Regions from separate parts of the Homo sapiens genome. Here region 2 is linked to region 1. The links are contacts of gene promoters, found by promoter capture Hi-C in blood cells and fetal thymus (Javierre and others, 2016). All regions are on one chromosome and are shown on one strand. The core of a region is centred on a gene start or on the middle of the fragment in contact, and the rest is flanking DNA. Distances in the headings are between cores, read along the strand shown.

The links. The method cuts DNA at HindIII sites, captures the fragments that hold promoters and counts their contacts. A CHiCAGO score of 5 or more calls a contact.
Region 2: a fragment that was not itself captured here is called in contact with the fragment with the promoter of TRIM3 in region 1 in 3 of 17 cell types (activated CD4 T cells, naive CD8 T cells and naive CD4 T cells); the score reaches 6.6 in activated CD4 T cells.

Annotation. Positions count from the first base shown.
Region 1 is chr11:6,471,826-6,477,213 of GRCh38, forward strand. It overlaps TRIM3 (tripartite motif containing 3), which reads right to left and starts at 2,116. Exons shown (of 12, transcript NM_033278.4): 1 at 1,966-2,116. It overlaps ARFIP2 (ARF interacting protein 2), which reads right to left. Exons shown (of 8, transcript NM_001376558.2): 8 at 4,694-5,388. The coding sequence ends at 5,288. RefSeq lists enhancers at 777-1,716, 1,717-2,655 and a silencer at 2,013-2,242. The HindIII fragment of the contact is 3,557 bases long and covers 953-4,509 here.
Region 2 is chr11:6,757,434-6,762,821 of GRCh38, forward strand. No RefSeq gene overlaps it. Among named protein-coding and RNA genes, the nearest start is that of OR2AG2, 12 kb to the right of the region's middle. The HindIII fragment of the contact is 3,754 bases long and covers 773-4,526 here.

The DNA of each region.
Region 1 (5,388 bases), core at 866-3,365:
ACATTGGGAAAACAGTGAGTAAAGAAACAGAAACATGAGAAACTAAGAAATATGGAACAGATGGACAAGATTGCAAATCTCCAAAAGGCAGAGGTTATACATGATGCTTTTACATCCTAAAAGCATAAAAATAAATATGCTAAAAATAAATAAATCTAAATAAATAAATAAATAAAAGGCACCACCACTCACCCACCCACACAAGCGAGAACCCTGGTAGTCTTCTCAATTACACCTTTTCTTTCACCTTTCAGATACAAGCTATGACTACATCCTCAATTCTGCCTCTGAAATTTGGCTAGGTTTAAAAAGTTAGGAGATCTAGGATCTAGTCCTAATGCTGTAACTAACTCCACTAACACAAGGTGAAACTCTAGGTAAGTTCCAACCCCATTCCCTTATTTGTAAATTGGGAGAAGAGGGATGTTTTCTCAAAATCTGAGATTCCCAAGGTTCCCTCTCAAGCCAAGGGCTTCCACAGATTGTACCATGAGCCCATGATTAAATCCCATCTTGTACTACCTCGATGATTTGACTTCTAGTTTCCACTGTTAGGCTAAATGTGTTAGAGGATGGTCTTAGTTGCCTCCCCTCCACACTCCCCCTGCCCCCTCGCCCCCGTAAATAAATGTTTGCTGAGTTTTAAGTCACCTGTGACACTCTATGAACGCTCTCTATTCTAACCATATGGTTTTTCTGCTTTTCTGAACCTGGGCTATACTATCCCAACGATGGACTCTTTGCTCAAGTTCTCTCGGCAAGAATGCCATTGTCTCCTAAGTGGCTGTGGCAGTACCTGGCACACAGGAAGTACTCAGTATATGTTGGTTACAGGAGAGCTCTGTTTAAATCTCTGCAGTTCCCTTTCATCAGAGAGAGATGCAAAAGTAATGGCAGTAACAAGACAAGTGAATAAAGTCCCAAGAAGAGAGACCTCTGCTTAATATAAGGAAGCTTTTCCACAGCAGAAAGTAGCAAGTGCTCTGTCACTGGAGGCATACAAGCCCAAGGAGGCAGGGCTACTGTCAGGCCTGCAGCTCTGATTCCAATTCTGCAGCAAATCATCCCCTGCTTAGGGGATGAATGGGCACCAGTGAGCTAGACAGACTGGCCAAGGGAGACCTGTGATGTTTTCTGCACCTGCTGTGACCTCCCAGATGTGATCTTCCTGCTAGGGCCAGTCCTGAGTTTCTGTTGTCCACATCAGAGAACCCCCACACCAAGAACAAGCCCAGGGCCTGCCCTCAGTCGAACTGACCTCCCTGGGGTGCAGCCTGCCCCTCCAACCTGCAACCATCTGTCCCTGCAGGTTTGCAGCCCAGGATCTGAAGCCAATTGCAGAAGGGAGGAGGTCAGAACCAGGGAGGGGCCTGGGGTCCTCCAGGCAGGGCTCAGGCTACAGGAGAACCAGAGGGGTCCTTTCCTACAAAAAAACAGCCTCCACATGAGGCTTTCTGTCCACAGAGCAGTGCATGGGGAGGAAAGGGTGTCCTCCATCCTGACTGGTGGGCCTGTGGGTACCAGAGGATGGAAGGGGCGGGGGGTGGGGTAGGGTGGGGGTGGGGGAGCAAGGGGTGGAGGTGTCTGCACCAGGGAGAAAAGAGCCCTTCAGACAAGATGGGCCACAATATTCCAGAGTCCCACTCAGCACGCACCACCACCACCACCCTCGGCCGCAGCGTTCAGCACCCTCCGCCAACACACACAAGCTCCCAAACCCCGCGCTCCCCTAAGGAACCATCACCCATCCACCCGCGCCTCCCCGCCTCAAAACAGGGACCTCACGTGAGCAGCCACAGCCCGAAGAATCCCCCTGCTGCTCTCACGGACATGGACACGCCTCACGTGGGCAGAGAGAGGCACAGCTTTTGAAAATCATCTGTGCCCCCACCCACAGACGCTCCGACCCAGACCCGGGCTGACAGGAATACAAACGCACCCTTGGGGCCCGCCCGTCGCACTCACCGCGTTGGAACAGGATGCGAGGGCAAAGCTCGGACTGCGGCCACTCTGAAGGGCCCGCGGCGCTGCTACTGCTGCCAGCGCCCGTCCGCCCGGCCCTGCCCGCGCCTCCGCCTGTCCCCGCGCCGGCGCCGCCGCCGGACTAGCCGCACAGGCCGGAGGGAGGGGCCGGGGCGGGGCTGCGGACCGGCCGGGGGAGGGGGTGACTCCAGTAGGGAAGACCCACCCACGCCCCGCCCGCCGCCGCGGAGGCCCCGCCCACCCCGCCTGCCCACCCCTACCGCACCCGCACGCCCCCCCGCCAACGCCTCCACCTCCTGCGGACGCTGCCTCCTTGGTGCTGCTAGGGAGCCGGCGGGCCGGCGAGCCGGATCCCGGATCTCGGATCCCGGATCTCCGCCAGCTGCCTCCGGCTCCGGGAAGGGCGGTGTAGTCGGTCTCAGGGATTGAGATGAGACTCCGTCAAGAAAAGGCAGCTGGGGCAGCAGGGATTTCGGACTCTGGGAGCCTGTCTGGGCCGCCTGCCTCCTGGAGGCGCCCTTTCCGGCTTCCTTGGAGTGCTCCTATGGAATATGCTAGTCTATCGGCTGACCAGGAAGACGTAGAAACCGTCTGTACCTCAGCACGATCTCTGGGCGGCAGAAGGGCAGTACCCAGAACTCTGGGAGAAGGAGTTAAGGGGTAGAAAGGTGGGGGATTTGATTAGGCTTTGGGCGCTTCAGGAGCCCCCTCCTGAGGAAATTCTGGTTCAGACCATCCAGCGACTCCCTTCCTCACACCAAAGACACTGGACAATTCTCAGAATCATCGCCTTGTGCAAAAAGCAGCCCCAAGTGGAAAATAATTGTAACAGTTTACAGGGACTGAGTGGTTATTATGTGCCGACACAGAACTAGCCACTTTACATATATTATTTAATAGTCAGTAGGTAGCATCTTTTATTAGCCCAATTTTACAATGGGAAAAAATAGGGATCTTGCTCCCCAGACGTTAGCCCTCATCACTCAGCTAGAAAGTGGCAGAACCTGGAGTTGAGCCCTGTTTTTAGGCCCTACAACCAGCATTTGGAGACTCGGTACCTTTCATGTTGAAAAATCCCCAGTGGCCCATTAAGTGGCAGCTCATATAAGGACCACCTTCCCTGCCCCAAAAATCAAGCTCTAGTCAGATGATTGCAGGCTGATCAAAGCCCAGAAGACTGTCTGGGAGCTGCAGTATCCATGACAAAGGGCAAAGTCATGCCTGTGAGGATCCCTGCACTATGGGAATCTGCTGAGTGGGTCTTCCCCTTCCTCCAGCCTTCCAGAGGTGGGGAAAATCCTGAAAAATTCTGGTTTCCTTGGCCAAAGGGCATACAGGTGATGACACCTAGCCCTGACTAAACCAAAGTGCTGTTAGGGATCTTTCTTGTGACCTCTCCACAAGGTTCAGATTTAGGCTCAACACCTGGGTGCAGCAGGAGCTTTGGGAACCGCCTCAACCTCTTATCCACCTGAGTTCAGCACATAGCACAAGATGCTCCAGTGCTTGTGAAGGAAACCCAGACGGGGATCATGCTTGCAGTTTTGGGCTGGGGCTACTATGCTACCCAAGATGAGGGAACTGGAGTCTAGATGACACTATCTTAAGCCTCAGAGGACTACTTTTCTCAACTCTATACTTCTCCCATGCAGTCAAATTTCTGCTTAAAACACTTCTCAGCTCCTTCTCCAGAGGGCAAAAGTCCTTAACCAGCCTGCAGTCTTCATCTAGCCACTCCCTCTTCATTTTTCATTCCAAGCAATTCCTCCCAGTTCCTACTCAGAGCCTTCATTATATGCTAGCCTCTCTGCCTGGGATGCTCTTCCCTTTACCCTGCCTGTTTGTCATCTACTCACCCTTCAGGTCTCAGCTTTTTTTTTTTTTTTTTTGAGATGGAGTCCCGCTCTGTTGCCCAGGCTGGAGTGCAGTGGCGCAATCTTGGCTCCACTGCAAGCTCCGCCTCCCGGGTTCACACCATTCTCCTGCCTCAGCCTCCCGAGTAGCTGGGACTACAGGACTACAGGCGCCAGCCACCGTGCCGGGCTAATTTTCTTGCATTTTTAGTAGAGATGGGTTTTCACCGTGTTAGCCAGGATGGTCTTGATCTCCTGACCTGGTGATCCGCCCGCCTCGGCCTCCCAAAGTGCTGGGATTACAGGAGTGAGCCACCGCACCTGGCCAGGTCTCAGCTTTCAAACTGACATCCCCATTTCCACCCCAGTCCATGCCAGATGCCCCTCCTTTGTGCTCCCACAGCGCCCTCTGTACTTCTGTATCCTAATACTTATCACTGTTTTGTAGTTGCCTGGTTACTTCTTTCCCTCAGTAGGCCCTAAGCACTGTGGGCAGGGACCGTGTTTTATTCACTGATGTTTCCCCAGGGCCTAACGCAGTCCCTGGCAAATGAAAGCACTCAGTAAATATTTGCTGTATGAATGAATGCATGATGAAGGTCAGCAAACCCAACCCCCTCTGGATCTGGTGCTCTTAAGATCCATAGCTATCTTGGTGCTGGCTAAAGGACAAAGCTTTGGCTCCAACTGAGGCTGGGAGAGAAGACTGGGCCTTCAAACCATCTCTGAAACCTGTGACTTCAGCTGCCTGGCCCCAGCTCTTTTGACTTGATAGGGTTCTGGTGTTTGATTAGACTGAGCTTGTCTCCACCCAGGCCACCCTCCTAGAGTCCCCGACAAATTGACCTCGCTGGGCCTGCTTTTATGAAAGGTTTATTCCTAGTGCTAGATCCCAATCTTCTTGGGCTCTAAGCACAATTAAACTGGGTGGGTGGGTGAGGGTAGGCCTATTCAGATGCAAGGCCAGCAATGGGGCTCCCCATTATCCCCACCCCTTTGGTCCCAGTCCCCTTCTCTGCAATGGGCACGCATAGAGGAGAGACAAAGGGTATTAGACGCAACATCATTGGCCCAGGGGAGTCCGAGAAGAGCTGCCATTGGCTGACAGGGCATTTTCAGGCTCTGTCATTGGTCAGGGAGCACACCCCAGCCTGAAGAGTGATGCCATTGGCCAGGGAGTGGTTTTGTCATAGCCGTTGGCTGTGAAGTGGAAGGAAAAGATCTGGGAATGAAGCCCTGTGGCCAGGAAGATAGACAGGGCAGCAACTTCTGGGCCTCCAGGCCCTCTTCCCACCATAGCAATGTGGGCAAAACTGGTGTCAGGCCCCAGCCAGAAAAAGGAGCCCAAGCCAGAGGGCAAGTGACAAAGGATGTACCATGTCCAATCTCCCACACCCTGGGGCTGCCCTTCCCAATGTCTTTCTTGATAGCCAAGTTGGGCTGGGAGCAGCTCACTGCTCCTCTAGCCAGGAGGGTTTCTCAGCTCCTGGAGGCCGCAGCTTGATGTTGAACTGCTGCAGGGTCTGCTCCAGCTGTTTCTGGTTCCCAGCAA
Region 2 (5,388 bases), core at 1,400-3,899, 290 kb after region 1:
AAAATGATGCTTGATTACTAAGAAAGCCTTCCCCTGCTTCTCATCCCAATGTGTGGTGGAAAGAGTGTGGTTTATTCAAGCTTCTGGTGCTGAGAAGGAACTCTAGCCTCAGCCTTGTTTTTCTGTTGCAGCAGCTCCATCTGCTGGTCTCTCGAGCACTGTTTTTTATGAACCTAGTTGTTCAGCATTCTGCAGGACACCACTGCTGAACTGGCTAGTTCACATGGGGTCTACACTTTCTACAGGGACAATGTTTCTGAGTTGCTAATGCTGTAAGAAAAATTTTGCTGTCTGCATAACCCTGAGTTGATTGCCACATCCTCCAGCCTACAAGTTGGTCCAGCATTCCACACTCTGTTATTGTCAAGTCAACTCATTCGGCTATGGAGGCCTATAAGAGCCCACCAGGTTTCAATTCAGTATCTAAATCACATAAAAACTCAAGGCATCTTTGTAAAGTTAAACCCCAGGGGCTCTCTCTACTTGACTGTGATGTGCTACATTTCTGTGACTGAGTCCTAAAGTTGATGCATGGCATAATTAATCCATTTGGATGTCAAAAGACTAATATTACCTCAGTCTTATTTCTCTCTACTTTTCTTTCATAAAGAATTCTAACTCCTTCCAGACAAATGAATGTCTCCGGTAGAGTAAGAAGATGCTTTAATTATGACACTTTTACCTACATCTTCATCTTCACTTTTGTTGTCTGATAAGGTCAAAGCCTTATCCTGTGCTCTGTTCACTGCACCTCCAGGTGTTTAGTCTGGAAAGCTTGAGATGTGGAAGATCAGTGGGAGAGAGACTAGAAGAAAACGGCCTGCTCACACCACATGATACCGGTCTTGAATTCTCACAGACATAAACACCTTTCTTTATTTATAATATTCTTTCATCATAATTAAGAATCTGGCATGTCGGGAGCTTGTCCATTCATCCAATACACATTCGCAGAGTACCTATTATGTGCAGTGTGCTCTGACCAGCACAATGTGTAAGCTACTGTGTTAATTTTCTATTCCTGCTGTAACAAATTACAACCAATTTGGTGGCTTACAACCACAGATTTATCTTAAGTTCTGGAGGTTAAAGTCCAAAATTAGGTCTTATGGGGCCGAAAACAAGGTATTGGCAGGGCTTCCTTCCTTCTAAAGGCTCTCAGTAAAATCCATTCCCTTGCCCTTCCTGCATCTAGAAACTGCCTGCATTCCTAGACTTCTGACCCCTTCCACCTTCAAAGCCAACAATGGCCATTCAAGGGTTTCGGTGCATCGTTCCAACTCTGACCCTGCTACCTCCCTCTTATAAGGACCCTTGTGATTATATTGAACCCACCTGGATAATCCGGGATAATTTTCTTGTCTCAAGATTGGTAATTTAATCACATCTACAAAGTCCTTTTTGCCATCTAAGGTACCATGTACAGGTTCTGGGGAGTAGGAATGTGAACATCTTTGGGGGACATTTATTTATCAATAGCATACTCAAAGAGAGACTAGCCCTCAGTGAGTCAAATGACTACAAAACACGTGGCTAATCTTTTTTTAATAACTTTTTTAAGCTAAAATATAACAGTTATACAAATACTAAAAAATGCTCAGAATGTATATGTACAGCTCAATGAATCTGGCACAAGGCATACACACTCCAGTAACCACTATTCAGGTCAAGTTACAGAGCATTACCAACACCCCAGTATTCTTTCCTTATGCCCTCTTCTAATCACTATACCTTCACTCACTCCCCAAAAGCAGTTTAACACCATACATCAGTTATGTTTCTTAGACAGGCAATTGAAATGATACAATATGTATGTTTTGTGCCTGCCTTCCTTCACTCAATATTACGTTTGTAAGATTTATCCATGTTACTATATGGAGCTATTGTGGTTCATTTTCTTTTCTTTCTTTTTTTTTGAGAGTCTCGCCTTGTCACCCAGGCTGTAGTTCCTCTCTGTTCCATTGGTCTATATATCTGTTTTGGTACCAGTACCATGCTGTTTTTGTTACTTTAGCCTTGTAGTATAGTTTATAGCATTGTAGTATAGATTGCAATGGCACGATCTCGGCTCACTGCAAGCTCTGCCTCCCAGGTTCAAATGATTCTCCTGCCTCAGTCTCCTGAGAGCTGGGATTACAGGCGTCTGCCACCACGCCCAGCTAATATTTGCATTTTTTCAGTAGAGACAGGTTTTACCATGTTGGCCAGGCTGATCTCGAGCTCCTGACTGTGTGATCTGCCTGCCTCAGCCTCCCAAAGTGCTGGAATTACAGGTGTGAGCCACTGCGCCTGGCCTCGTAGTTCATTTTCTTTGTTGTATAATGCATTGTATGACTAGATCACAGTTTATTTATCCTTTATGCTGATGAACAAACATGTGGGTTGTTTTCAGCTTTGGGGTATTTTAAACAGTGTTGCTATAAATAGTTTTGCACATGTCTTTTGGTGCACATATACACACATTTCTGTCAGGCATATACAACAAGTAGAATTGCTTGGTTATGGCATATACATATCTTCAACTTCAGTAGAGAATACCAACCAGTTAAAAAAATTTTTTTATTATACTTTAAGTTCTAGGGTACAGTGCAGAACGTGCAGTTTTGTTACATAGGTATATACATGCCATGGTGGTTTGCTGCACCCATCAACCCGTCACCTACCTTAGGTATTTCTCCTAATGCTATCCCTCCCCCAGTCCCCCACCCATGACAGGCCCCAGTGTGTGATACCTCCCTATGTCCATGTGTTCTCATTGTTCAACTCCCACTTATGAGTAAGAACATGCGGTGTTTGGTTTTCTGTTCTTAGTTTGCTGAGAATGATGGTTTCCAGCATCATCCATGTCCCTGCAAAGGACATCGTTTTCATGGCTGCATGGTATTCCATGGTGCATATGTGCCACATTTTCTTAATCCAGCCTATCACTGATGGGCATTTGGGTTGGTTTCAAGTCTTTGCTATTGTGAATAGTGCTGCAATAAACATACATGTGCACGTGTCTATACAGTAGAATAATTTATAATCCTTTGAGTATATACTCAGTAATGGGATTGCTGGGTCAAATGGTATTTCTGGTTCTAGATCTTTGAGGACTCATCACATTGTATTCCACAATCATTGAACTAATTTACACTCCCACCAACAGTGTAAAATTGTCCCTATTTCTCCACATCCTCTTCAGCATCTGTTGTTGCCTGGCTTTTTAATGATCACCATTCTAACTGGGGTGAGATGGTATCTCATTGTGGTTTTGATTTGCATTTCTCTAATGACCAGTGATGATGAGCTTTTTTTCCTACGTTTGTTGGCTGCATAAATGTCTTCTTTTGAGAAGTGTCTGTTCATATCCTTCATCCACTTTTTGATGGGGTTGTTTTTTTTCTTGTAAATTTGTTTAAGTTCTTTGTAGATTCTGTATATTAGCCCTTTGTCAGATGGATAGATTGCAAAAATTTTCTCCTATTCTGTAGGTTGCATGTTCACTCTGATGATAGTTTCTTTTGCTGTGCAGTAACTCTTTAGTTTAATTAGATCCCATTTGTCAATTTTGGCTTTTGTTGCCATTGCTTTTTGTGTTTTAGTCATGAAGTCTTTGCCCATGCCTATGTCCCGAATGGTATTGCCTAGGTTTTCTTCTAGGGTTTTTATGGTTTTAGGTCTAACATTTAAGTCTTTAATCCATCTTGAATTAATTTTTGTATAAAGTGTAAGGAAGGGGTCCAGTTTCAGTTGTCCGCATATGGCTAGTTTTCCCAACACCTTTTATTAAACAGGGAATCCTTTCCCCATTACTTGTTTTTGTCAGATTTGTCAAAGATCAGATGGTTGTAGACATGTGGTGTTATTTCTGAGGCCTCTCTGTTCCATTGGTCTAGATATCTGTTTTGGTACCAGTACCATGCTGTTTTTGTTACTTTAGCCTTGCAGTATAGTTTAAAGTCAGGTAGCATGATGCCTCCAGCTTTGTTCTTTTTGTTTAGGATTTTCTTGGCCATGCGGCCTCTTTTTTGGTTCCATATGAAATTTAAAGTAGTTTTTTCCAGTTCTGTGAACAAAGTTAATGAGAGCTTGATGGAGATAGCATTGAATCTATAAATTACTTTGGGCATGTGTGAGGAAGGTACTTGTTCTAGCACTCACCAAATTCCAGATAAGAGACACGAAGTTCTCCAGTAGTACTTTTCAATCTCTCATCAACAAACTTAAGATTAGTTCCTTCTTTCCTTATGGAGGGAGGGGTAAAAGAATACTCTGAGAGATAACTTCAAATATTCCTCTCCACCAACCTCCAACTGTCTCTCTCTTTCATACCCTAAAAAAGTTGAAGGCTTAACGCTTGTATGCCATCTCTTGATCACCTCCATGTACGTCCTCCCTAATGGTGTAGCACCTCAGTTTAGAATGTGGAGGTACATGGCAAATATTGTTTTATTTTTAGATTTCAGGTAATATTTCTATGGTATGACATTAGTATAGAGACAATAATCTAACTGAACTTTTGGGAAGTTGAGTCAAGGAGTGTAAGCTTAAAATAATGTACCATAATATTTATGAGTCTGCTCCACTAGAGCATATTATTATTCATATACTCATATTATTATGAGTTCATGATAATTATGAGTCTGCTCCACCAGACTCATCATTCAATTATTTCTTTTTCTTTTTGAACATTCTAGTAAATTTAAGAATATACTTCTGGAAATTCATTGTTATAAACTTTATTGTTTTACACTGTAGCAAATGAGGGCAATGCCCACTACATATTCTTTTAACTTATCATTTCAGGGCATGCTGACATCTGACAGCCATCTTTTGCAACAGAACTTTCTTTGGCTAACATGCCAGTTATGCCCACTTGCCCAGAAGATCAGAATGGCCTAAGATACTAATGTGCCCTACACCAAGCCGCCTTAATTGATAATTGATGAGAATTGGTGTGTAAAAACCCCTAGATTTCTGATAGAGTTTGGATGTTGTCCCCTCTAAATCTCATATTGAATTGTAATCCCCAGTGCTGGAGGAGGAGCCTGGTGGGAGGTGACTGGGACATCGGTGTAGATCCCTCATGGCTTGGTGCTGTCCTCCCAATAGTGACTATTCACAAGATCTGATTGTTTAAAAGTGTGTGGTACCTTCTCTCCCCTACTCTCTCTCGCTCCCTCTCTTGCCATGTGACATGTCTGCTCCCGCTTTGCCTTCACCACCATAAATAAAAGCTCCCTGAAGCCTCACCAGATCTGAGTAGTTGCCAGTGCCAGGCTTCCTGTACAGCCTGCAGAACTGTGACCCAATTAAGCCTTTCTTTATAAATTACCCAATCTCATGTATTTTTTATAGCAATGTAAGAATGGCCTACACAATCTCTTACATCGTAGTTGAGGTATA